3 separate regions of the Homo sapiens genome follow, and regions 2 and 3 are each linked to region 1. The links are contacts of gene promoters, found by promoter capture Hi-C in blood cells and fetal thymus (Javierre and others, 2016). All regions are on one chromosome and are shown on one strand. The core of a region is centred on a gene start or on the middle of the fragment in contact, and the rest is flanking DNA. Distances in the headings are between cores, read along the strand shown. Region 1 holds the start of LINC02909 (long intergenic non-protein coding RNA 2909). Region 2 overlaps DNAI7 (dynein axonemal intermediate chain 7). Region 3 overlaps ETFRF1 (electron transfer flavoprotein regulatory factor 1).

Region 1 (3,783 bases), core at 1,254-3,753:
ATAAAATTTTAATCTCAGATAAACAATGACTAATTTTTTAGTGTAAGTATGCCCCCAAATGTTGCACAGGACATAGTTATACTGGAAAATTATTTGTTGTTTATTTGAAATTCAAATTTCACTGGCTGTCTTGTATTTTTTTTTTTTTTAGCTAAATCTGACAACCTGAAAAATGTCAAATAAATAATTACATAGTCAGGAGCCATGAGAACCTATAATAGGAAATTATCCCAGCTTGGGAGTGAGGCTAGGAAAAATTTAGGAGCATCTATTATGTGGCTATTATATGCACTGCACAGAATGTTATACATATTGTTTGCTATTTCTAGGGTTATAAACAGAAAATTAAGAAGTGGAACTATAAATCTGTTAGAGGAATTTCCACTTGGATTCATGTGAGCTAAATGTAATGTAAAATGATGTTAGAGATTATCGATACTGCTTATGTTGCTAATCTTTTTTATTCCTCCTATTGATTGAACTATGCTTCATTGCTCTGGCTTATAGATTCTGAGTCCCATTATTATTATTGCCTCAATTATCTTGTTCCATACAGTCAAAGCTCTTGAATCAACACTTTTCAACCATCTGCCCGATCCAAAACTATAAAGCAACAAGTAAAATCCTCTAACACATGGCAACATCTGTAAAACAAGTCCGATTTGATTCTTACCTAAAGTTATTCGTTATATATTTGATTTTCACCACCAGTGTAACTGCAGACTTCAACATCAACCTCTAAGACATCCATACTCTTTGGGACTTATAGAAATCTACATTTGTTCTGACTTCAATGAGTTAATCTACTACGTATGTACAATGTAGACAATATTTCTTATTCTTTAGGAATGTATATGTAAACAACATGACATAATTTGTGTTTATCAACATCTATATTATTCAATCACTAAGAAAGTTGCATTTTATTGCAAAGAATGGCATATGATGTATACAGAGGTACAAAAGCAGCATCCTGGAAAAAGCTGGCAGATTTCAGGGTGATTCAAAAGGCTCTGTAGAAATCTTTCTGAATCAAATTCTAACTCCAAACAGATTAACAATGTAATTATCTTTCCTGTTTTTTTCCTTTAAAATGTTTTCCTCCCTTTACTAAAGTTATTTATTGAGCATTGAACTTCCAAACCTTAGATCAGGCAGGCTGATTTTTAAAATCATTCAAAACTTGATTAGGAAAGCCAGTCAATCATTCATGATTCATCTATGTGAGATCCTATTGGTAATTAATGCAAAATCCTTAATATACGTAAAAAAAAAAATTTAAGTATGTGTGTAGATAGACAAGAGATTCCTTTTGCCAAAACAACCCTTCACTAATGATTAGATGCCACTAAACTCTTCATCAAAACCTAAGAAGAAACATCTGTTCACTGAGACATTCCCAGGAAACCCATCTTTAGTGAGCTCAGTGGGAGGGCAGAGCATGGTTTTCTGCTTAACCAGTGAATTTTATATCTGCCAAATTAAACTGTTTTCATTCTCTTTGTGACTACTATTTTATGTGATAAAATAATAACACTTCTTCCTGCCGTTTCTAGGATAGATGATAGCAGCTGTTAATCACATGATTTGCAAACCACAAGTACCAGATTTAGTAAATGCTCAGCAAGTCTGTCATCCGCAACCTTTCTGATTATTAATAAATGCAAGCTGGTATAGGCTAGAAACTTTCCTCCCACAATTCAGTTAACCTTGTTATATTAAGCTTCTTGGCTGGGTCACACCAAGCTTACTATAAACATCTCTTATTGGAACAATTCCTAAAATAGCAGAGTGACACATGCTTCTGAAAACTGTTCTTCTGTCTCACTTCTTGTTATATGAAGTCTGGTTTTCTTCTCAGAGAACAAGAGAAGACCTACAATAAATCTCTAGCTTCAAGAATTCAGGTGCCTCCAAGGTTCTTACAGTCTATAAAACTACATCACTGCGTTTCACTAACACACATTCCAAACGACCAAGCCTGAAAATGGCAGGATTAATTTAAATTTCCAAAAGCTCCATTGAAAACAATTTGAGATTTGCCTGTGGTGACAGCAACATATCTGGGGAATCTCACTTTATCACTCTCAGCTACCCATCTTTTTTCCCTATTTGTAGAGTGTTTTTCTTTTCAGATTTGTTTCAAGTTTTCAATGAACTCTGTTGAACCTCTAATATAGACTTATTGGAGGTTTGTCCCTTTTGCCACAAGCATTTTGAGGTTGAGACACAACAGAACAGCCTACATCTGATATTGCTTTTCCCTGGTTAGGGCGGTACTTTCTCGGCCTTCGATGACTAAAGGCCAGCATCAGCCAAAATTTAATTATTTCGTTGGGGAAAACTCACCACCTTATTTTCGCTTGACTTCGCCAGTGCTCCAAGAACCATCTGAGAACTGGGAAGAAAGAGTGGAGACCTACAGGTCAGATGACATGGGTGGAGCCCATTTCTACAGAGTGGCTTGGGCTGAGGTAAAAGAAGCTAGAGAAGAGAGCCGCTGATGCACTGCACCTGCCTAGGCTGGAGTTAAGGTACTAATCACAGCAGCAGTGCTGGGAAAGATGCCTAGGAAGGATGAGGATGACAGGCACTATTTTGGTGTGCTCCCCACCACAGCAATAACAGAAAGATAGTCCAGGTGCAGTGTCTTTCACCTGTAATCCCAGCACTTTGGGAGGCTGAGGTGGGAGGATCGCTTGAGCCCAGGAGTTCAAGACCAGCCTGGGCAACATGGTGAGACCCCCCCCCACCCCCGGTCCCCGCCCGGCTCTACAAAAAACAACACACTAAAGCTCATCCTGATTATACTTTCTAATCAGATGAAGGAAAATTATTTTTAAGTTAAATCTCATACTTTTTCTTTTGTTTTTTGGAAATGGAGTGTTGCTTTGTTGCCCAAGCTTGAGTGCAGTGGCACGATCTCAGCTCACTTCAATCTCTGCCTACTGGGCTCAAGCCACTCCCCCACCTCAGCCTGCCAAGTAACTGAAATGACAGGGGCATGCCACCACAGCCAGCTAATTTTTGTATCTTTTGTAGAGATGGGGTTTTGTTGTGTTGCCCAGGCTGGTCTCAAACTCCTGAGCTCAAGCGATCTACCTGCCTCAGTCTCCCAAGGTGCTGGGATTACAGGTGTGAGCCATTGCGCTCAGCCTGGTCATTATCATTTCTATCACCAGGTGAGAGCAAAGGGGAGTCAAATACTGGGGAATAAGAACTGGGGCTCTGAGTTTAAATAACCTGAGTTCAAACCCCAGTTCTGCTGCTTACTAGCTTTGTGATCTTGGACAAATTATTTAACCATATGTGCTTCAGTTTCTTCATCTGTAAAATTGCATCAATATCATGCAATGACCTCCGGGTGTGCTGCAGGGATTAAATGAGGTTAATACGCAGATGGCCCTCAGAACCATGTAGCACATTCTGAGCTCTCAGTAATGTTGTTATGATGCACTTTCTGAAACTCCTTTAACTTATCCAATACTAGAGGTCCTCTTAAAGCACCAAATAGCACCTAGAAAGAAATGACCAAGTAACCCGCTCCTCTCATTAGATTTGCTGTTTAATTTCCCATGAAATAACCTATTATAACATCCATGCTTGCGATCTGCTTATCAATCCACAGATACCGAAACTGGCAACACCCAGAGACATTTCCCTCCTAGTCATAAAGGAAGCCAGCAGCAGAGCCAGAAATAATATTCAAATTCTGGATCCACTAGACCATATTGCCCGTCTGACAAATTATACGCTTACATCCTGCTTCAGGTGAGTCTAGTA
Region 2 (3,702 bases), core at 1,134-3,633, 180 kb before region 1:
GTACCACCATGCCCGGCTAATGTTGTATTTTTAGTAGAGATGGGGTTTCTCCGTGTTGGTCAGGCTGATCTCAACCTCCCAACCTCAGGTGATCTGCCCGCCTCGGCCTCCCAAAGTGCTGGAATTACAGGCGTGAGCCACCGCGCCCAGCCTACAGGTGTCTCTTTGAAAAAAAAAAAAAAAATTTCTTTTCTTTTCAGCAGATACCCAGTAGTGGGATTGCTGGGTTGAATGGTAGGTTTATTTTAAATTCTTTAATAAATCTTCATATTGTTTTCAATAGGGGTTGAACTAATTTACATTCATACCAACAGTTCCCTTTTTTCTGCATCCTCACCAACATGTCCCTTTTTTTAATTTTTTAATAGTAGACATTCTGACTAGTGTGAGATGATATCTCACTGTGGTTTTAATTGAAATTTATCTGATTAGTGATCTTGAGCATTTGTTCATGTGTGTTGCCACTTATATGTCCTCTTTTGAGAAGTATCTGTTCATGTCCTTTCCCCACTTTTTAATGGGGCTTTTTTTTTCTTATTAAGTTCCTTATCGATTCTGGGTATTTGTCCTTTGTCAGATGCATAGTTTGAAAATATTTTCTCCTGTTTTGTAGGTTGTCTGTTGACTGTGTTGTTTCTTTTGCTATGCAGAAGCTCTTTAGTTTAATTAAGTCCCATTCATCAATTTTTGTTTTTGTTGCAATTGCTTTTAAGGTCTTAGTTATAAATTATTTGCCTAGGCCAATGCCCAGAAGAGTTTTTCCTGGTTTTCTTTTAGGGTTTTTATAGTTTGAGGTCTTGGCTGGATGCAATAGTGCACACCTGTAATCCCAACACTTTGGGAGGCTGAAGCAGAAGGATTGCTTGAGGCCGGGAGTTCAAGACCAACCTGGGAAACATAGTGAGACCCCCCCACCTCTGCAAAAAATGAAAATAAAAAATTAGCCAGATGCAGTGGCATGCATCTGTAATTCTAGCTACTCCTGAGGCTGAGGTGGGAGAATTGCGTGAGCCCAGGAGTTTGAGATTACAGTAAGCTATGATTGCACCACTGCACTCCCATTCTTTCCTGAATGACAAAGCGAGACTCTGTCTCTTAAAAAAAATTATAGGCCGGGCACGATGGCTCATGCCTATAGTCCCAGCACTTTGGGAGGCCAAGGCAGGCGGATCATCTGAGGTCAGGAGTTCGAGATCAGCCTGCCCAACATGGCGAAACCCCGTGTCTACTAAAAATACAAAAAATTAGCCGATCGTGGTGGCAGGCGCCTGTAATCCCAGCTACTCAGGAGGCTGAAGCAGGAGAATCTCTTGAACCCGGGAGGCAGAGGTTGCAGTGAGCCGAGATTGCACCACACACTCCAGCCTGGGCGACAAGAGTGAAAAAAAAAATTATAGTTTGAGGTCTTATATTTAAGTCTTTAATCCATCTTGAGTTAATTTTTATATATGTTAAGAGTTAGGGGTCCAGTTTCATTCTTCTGCAAGTGGCTAGCCAGTTTTCCTAGCATCATTTATTGAACCCAGTGTCCTTTCCCCATTGTTTGTTTATTTTTGCTAACTTTGTTGAAGATCAGTTGGTTGTAGGTGTATGGCTTTATTTCTGGGTTCTCTATTGTGTTCCATTGATCTATTTTTATACCAATACCATGTTATTTTGGTTGCTACAGCCTGTAGTATAGTTTTGAAGTTTGGTAACGTGATGGCTCCAGCTTTCTTCTTTTTGCTTAGGATTGCCTTGGCTGTGTGGGCTCTTTTTTGGTTTCATATACATTTTAGAATTGTTTTTTCTAGTTCTGTGAAAAATAACGTTGGTAATTTGATAGGAATTGCATTGAATCTGTAGATTGCTTTGGGCAGTGTGATCATTTTAGTGATACTGATTCTTCTAATCCGTGAGCATGGATTATTTTTCCATTTGTTTGTGCCATCTGTGATTTCTTTCAGCAGTGTTTTGTAGTTCTCTTTGTAGAGATATTTCACCTCCTTGGTTAAATATATTTCTAGATATTTTATTTTTGTGTGCATGACTGTTGTAAATGGGATTGAGTTCTTGATTTGCTTCTCAGCTTAAACGTTGTTGGTGTGTAGAAATGCTACTTGTTTTTGCATGTTGTATCCTGAAACTTTACTGAAGTCGTTTATCAGGTCCAGGAGGTATTTGGAGGAATCTTTACCGTTTTCTAGGCATAGGATCATGTTGTCAGTGAACAAAGATAATTTGACTTTCTCTTTTCCTATTTGGATGCCTTTTATTGCTTTCTCTTGACTGATTGGTATGGCTAGGATTTCCAGTACTATTGAATAGGAATGATGAGAGTGGACACCCTTTTCATGTTCCAGTTCTTAGGGGGAATGCTTTCAGCTTTTGCCTATTCAGTATGATGTTGGCTGTGGGTTTGTCATACATAGATGGTTCTTACTAGTTTGAGATATGTTCATTTGATACCTAGTTTTTTGAGGGTTTTTTTTTTTAATCATGAAAGGATATTGGATTTTATCAAAAGGGTTTTCTGTGTCTATTGGGATGATCATATGGTTTTTGTTTTTAATTCTGCTTATGTGGTAAATCACATTTATTGATTTGTGTATGTTGAACCATCCTTGCATGATGATAAAGACTTGATTAGCCAAGGAAATCTAATTTTAAATTTGTGTATACCTACTTACAAAGCCTTGAAATATACAATGCACAAATTCAGGGAACTACAAGGAGAAATAGACACATCCACAAATAGACACATCCACAATCATAGTGGAAGATTTTCTCTTTCAATAATTAATAGAATAATGTTTAAAAAATCAGTAAGGATTTAGAAGATTGGAGCAACATGATAAACAAACCTAATGAATTAAACATATTTAGAACACCACACCAAACAAGTAGAGGATTCTAAGCACGCAAACATTTTCCCCCAAAATTGCTAGTATACTATGATACAAAACTATTCTCAAAGTTCAGTGCATGAAAACAATTCAGAGAATGTATCATAATGAATATTATATTGAAGGTAAAAATAATTCAGTAGCAAACAGGAAGGTACAATATGCTTGGAATTTTTAAAACATTCTAAAATGGGTCAAGAAGTAATATAATGGAAATTAGAAAATATTTTAAACTTATTGTTAAGGAAAATACTTAAAAATTTGTGGAATGTATGTAAAGCAATACTTAGAGGGAAATATGTAGACCTAAATATTTATATTAGAAGAAGAAAAAAGGCTAAAAATTAATGATCCTAGGTATCCTTCTCAAGAATTCAGAAAAAGAATAAAACCCAAAGGAGAAGGAAGGAAATAATAAGAACAAATATAGAAGGAAGGAGAAGAAAGGAAATAATAAGAACAAATATGGACATTAATAGAAAACACAGAATAGAGTGGGTCAGTAACCTCATATCCTTCAAGTCTTCACTTAAATGCCGCCTTCTCCATGAGGCCAATCCAAACCACTGTATTTAGAATTGTGATTTCGTCCCTTTCACAACTACACCAGCCATCTGGAGTCCCCCTACTTTCTTCCATATCACTTATCACTCCTTAAAATATTGTATAATTTATTTTAAATTTTAGTATATTGTTTTTGCCTTCCTGTTTACATTTGAATTGTAAGTGCAAGGATTTTTGTTTACTTTTATATCTCAAATAAGAGGCACATGTTAGCCTCTCAGTATTTATTAAATAAATGAACAAGTCACAGTAG
Region 3 (4,251 bases), core at 1,714-4,213, 200 kb before region 1:
CTACTTGACCATGCTCCCAGAAATTCCTCTTGCCTATCCTCTATGTTGATTATCCCATTTTCTACATTCCAAAGTGTTCCATTTCCTGGTTTTATTTTTGTTTCTGTGGAGCACATCCTAACTTCTTGAAAAGGGTACATGGAAGGTAAATGAGACCCTGGATGTCTAAAAATGGCTGGCTCCCTCTATCTGTTTGATAGCTTGTCTGAGTATAGAATTGAAAGCTGGAAATAATTTTCTTTTCAACATTTTGAAGTAGTTGCTCGTCTGTTTGCTTTTACCATTGCTATTAAGTTCAAAGCAGTCCTGGTAAGTGATCCTCTGTATGTGATGTATTTTTTCTCTCTCTCCCCAGAAACTTACAGAATCTTCTCCATGAAGATTTTGAAATGTTAGTGATGTGTTGATAATGGATTTATTTTTATCCATTGTACTGGACACTCAGTTGGCCCTTGCAATCTGGACACTTGTTTCCTTCAATTTGGGAAAAAATTTTAAATGATTTCATTCATGATTTCCTCCCTCCTCCATTTTCTTTTTTCTCCCTTCCTGGAACTTTTATTATTTGGATGTTTGAACTTCTAAACATGTTCTCTTCCTTTTTTCTGTACTATTTTCCATTTGTCTTTTTTTTTTAAGCATGGAGTTTCGCTCTTATCACCCACGCTGGAGAGCAATGGCCTGATCTCAACTCATTGCAACCTCCGCCTCCTGGGTTCAAGTGATTCTCCTGCCTCAGCCTCCCAAGTAGCTGGAATTACAGGTGCCTGCCACTAAGCATGGCTAATTTATGTATTTTTAGTAGAGATGGCTTTTCACCATGTTGGCCAGGCTGGTCTCGAACTCCTGACCTGAGGTGATCCACTCTCCTTGGTTTCCCAAAGTGCTGGGATAACAGGTGTGTGCCTCTGCGCCCAGCCTTTTATTTAGTTGTATGGGGGATTTTCTCATTTTCTTCTTCCAAGTGTTCTACTGAGTTGTTCATTTCTGCTCTTCCTGGACAGTTAATTTTGACCACTCAGATTGCTCTCAGCATAGCTGGAGACTACTATAGAGATGTTAAAAATACTCAAAAATTATAATAGAGTAGCCTGGGAATGGGAGTAGGGGCTGGAGACCAGGAAGGAATCAAAGATGCACAAGGCAACCTTTGTGGATAGTGGATATATTTATTGTCTTGATTGTGGTGATGGCTTCATTGTGTGTGTGTGTGTGTGTGTGTGTGTGTATGTATACATATATGTATATATACAAATCTATATAATTAGTATAGATACTATATAGTATATAGTATGTAGTTTTCCCACCACTTAGCCCTGTTCTTAGACTTTTGCTGGCATTTCTATTACTTGCAAAAATATATTAAAATATATATTGACAAACAGAGGTAGCCAGCCATTTTTAGTATATAGTATACTATGGTATATATATCTACCATATACTACATAGTATGTACTATGTAGTACATATATAGTTATGTACTATATATATTACTATATACTACATAGTACAGTATGTACTATATGTACTATATGTACTATGTAGTACATACTACGTAGTATATAGTAGATATATATAGTATATAGTACATAGTAATTCCTTTTATTTTTGTTTCTATGGAAACAAAAATATGTATACTATATATTATACTATATGTAGTATATATTATAGCACATATATATCTATAAATATGCATATATAGATGTGTATATATATGAACCAAATTTATCGAATTATACTTTGTAAGTGTAATTCAGTGTCAATTCTACTTCAGCAAAACTTAAAAAAATAATAGAAATGCCAGCCAAAGTCTAAGAACAGAGCTAAGAGATGCTGAAATAACACATGGAAGTAGAAATCCATCTAAACCACAAGGCTGCCAATTCGTGGGTAGGATAGGTGACTCTACCTGTCCTCAGTCGATGGCTACACAGAACTTGGGGTATGCCTCTCTGGGGAAGGAACCCTGGAATATACACTTGAATCAATGAAAAAATCTGAAAGACACTTGCCGCCAGCATAGCAGTGAAGCCATGACCTTTTCTTAACTGAAGGTCATACATTTACTGCTTTTCTGGCTCCTCTTTCCTAGGGAAAAAAATACTTCTACATTAATACTTGTTAAATTGTACTTACTACTAGTTAATGAGCTAATTCACATAACAAGCATATTATGTAGGCATTTTTTCTTTCCAAGTTCACTGATTCTTGCTTTCTTGAAATTTTCTGTTGTTTTACTTCAAATTGCTTTTCTGCTTGCTTTTGTCTCTTATCACTTCTGAGCTGTTTTACTTCAAATTGCTTTTCTGCTTGCTTCTGTCTCTATCACTTCTGAGCTTTCTTCCAAAGTCTGGTCATTCTTTTCTGTCTACTCTTATGAATGAAAAGACAAAAAAGCTTTTTAGATCTGTATACGTGGGTGAAGCATATAGACTCTGGGCTTCACTTAGGGTGCTCTGGGTGGGCCTTTACTGGGGAACCTCTGATGTCACTATCTTGGATTGCTCCTCCTGGGCTGGTCAGTTCCTCAGAGTTGAGTCTTCCAGTCTTCTAAGGATAAGAGGAATGCGGGCCCTGCATCCAGCATTATGTATTCCTAAATTCACTTAACTTTGTTTCCAGTGTGCTTCTCTAGAATGCCTGAGGATGCCCCAGTCCAGGGACTAGTATTACTTTGTCCAGAAATAAACCTCTAGTCTTCTATGGGAGTAAGGGGGTAGAGTTACTTAGAGGTGTTTCTCAAATAGCTTTCATGTAGTCCACTTCCAATTTCAGGGTGCGTGTTTCAGTGCCTTTTGAGAATTCTGCAGAGTGAATTGGGTTTTTCTGGTGTGCTAAGTCACATTCATTCACCTGTTTTCCAGCTTCTGAGTTTTATTGCTGTTACCTCCTGTCCCCATTTTTCCAATTTATTTTTATATCATTTTACTGTAGATTTAGTAGTTTTGGAAGGGAGTAAAATTAGATGAGGGTATTTAACCCACTATATTAACTACTTCATTCTTTAAACTTCCTTTTTTTTCTTTTGGCAGAGAGCCATTAGCAGCGTGAAATAATCTTACTAAGAATGATTCTTAGGCTGGGCATGGTGGCTTGTACCTGTAATCTCAGCACTTTGGGAGGCCAGGGCTGGAGGATGGCTTGAGCTCAGGAGTTTGAGACCAGCCTGGGCAACATAGTGAGTGAGACCTTGTCTCTACTAAAAGTAAAAAAATATTAGCCAGGCATGGTGGCGTGTGCCTGTAGTCTCAGCTATTTGAGAGGCTGAGGTGGGAGGATCGCTTGAGCCCAGGAGGTTGAGGCTGTAGTGAGCCGTGATTGTTCCACCACTCCAACCTGGGCAAAATTCATTTTGAGACCCTGTCTCAAAACAAAACAAACAAAAAACACCTCTTCGGAACCATGTTCTTTTCACATAATTTAAAATTAAATATACATAGATGTAATTTCGAATTGCAAACTATAACCTGTTTAATGCCTAACAGCACAGCTTCATTTAATTCACAATTTGTAACTTGTGAAAGCTTTCAGGGACCTGGCTTAAGTTGTCCTTTTTAGTTGTTGGTCTTTTTACAAATTATGTATCATAAAACACTTGCCCAGCAAAAATGTAACTAGTGTGGCTATGGCAAATTTGTTCTTCTTTGATATGTTAACTTATATGAATTAATGCAGTTTATCTTTTTTTTTTTTTGAGACGGAGTCTTGCTCTGTTGACCCGGCTGGAGTGTAGTGGTGCGATCTTGGCTCACTGCAACCTCCCTCTCCCGGGTTCAAGCGATTCCCGTCTCAGCCTCCAGAGCAGCTGGGATTACAGGTGCTGATCACCACGCCCGGCTAATTTTTTGTATTATTTTAGTAGAGACGGGGTTTCACTGTGTTATCCAGGATGGTCTCCATCTCCAGACCTCGTGATCCACCCACTTTGGCCTCTCAAAATGCTGGGATTACAGGCGTGAGCCACCACACCAGGCAATGCAGTTTATCTTTATGCAGTTGACCTTGAAGCATTTAGGTTTACTTTAGCCACTAAGAGAAATAGGTCTCCTTGGGTTCACAATGTAGTGAATAAACAATTTTGAGTTCAGCAGGGCCCTGAGGCTGCTCCTGAACTCTGCATGAAGTCATGGAGGTTACTGTTTTAAGTAAAGAGCCAAGAGTTAAGGACTAAGAGAAGCCCCCTATTATTCTGAAAACTTGGATGTGTGCGCTGGATGAGACAGCGGTTGCAGTCCCCATTGATAGTTTTTT

Evidence for each region. Contacts are between HindIII fragments. The CHiCAGO score rates a contact against its expected background, and 5 or more counts as called.
Region 2: a fragment that was not itself captured here is called in contact with the fragment with the promoter of LINC02909 in region 1 in 1 of 17 cell types (neutrophils); the score reaches 6.9 in neutrophils.
Region 3: a contact is called between a fragment that was not itself captured here and the fragment with the promoter of LINC02909 in region 1, in 1 of 17 cell types (total B cells). The highest score is 5.9, in total B cells.

Annotation. Positions count from the first base shown.
Region 1 is chr12:24,996,185-24,999,967 of GRCh38, reverse strand. LINC02909 (long intergenic non-protein coding RNA 2909) reads left to right here and starts at 2,503. Exons shown (of 4, transcript NR_171024.1): 1 at 2,503-2,736; 2 at 3,629-3,771. It also overlaps a transcript of IRAG2 not described here. RefSeq lists enhancers at 1,455-1,564, 1,815-1,944. The HindIII fragment of the contact is 1,157 bases long and covers 1,749-2,905 here.
Region 2 is chr12:25,178,516-25,182,217 of GRCh38, reverse strand. The region is part of intron 2 of DNAI7 (dynein axonemal intermediate chain 7); the gene reads left to right. Among named protein-coding and RNA genes, the nearest start is that of DNAI7, 15 kb to the left of the region's middle. The HindIII fragment of the contact is 7,373 bases long and covers 1-3,702 here.
Region 3 is chr12:25,196,597-25,200,847 of GRCh38, reverse strand. The region is part of intron 1 of ETFRF1 (electron transfer flavoprotein regulatory factor 1); the gene reads right to left. Among named protein-coding and RNA genes, the nearest start is that of ETFRF1, 3.5 kb to the right of the region's middle. The HindIII fragment of the contact is 1,127 bases long and covers 2,400-3,526 here.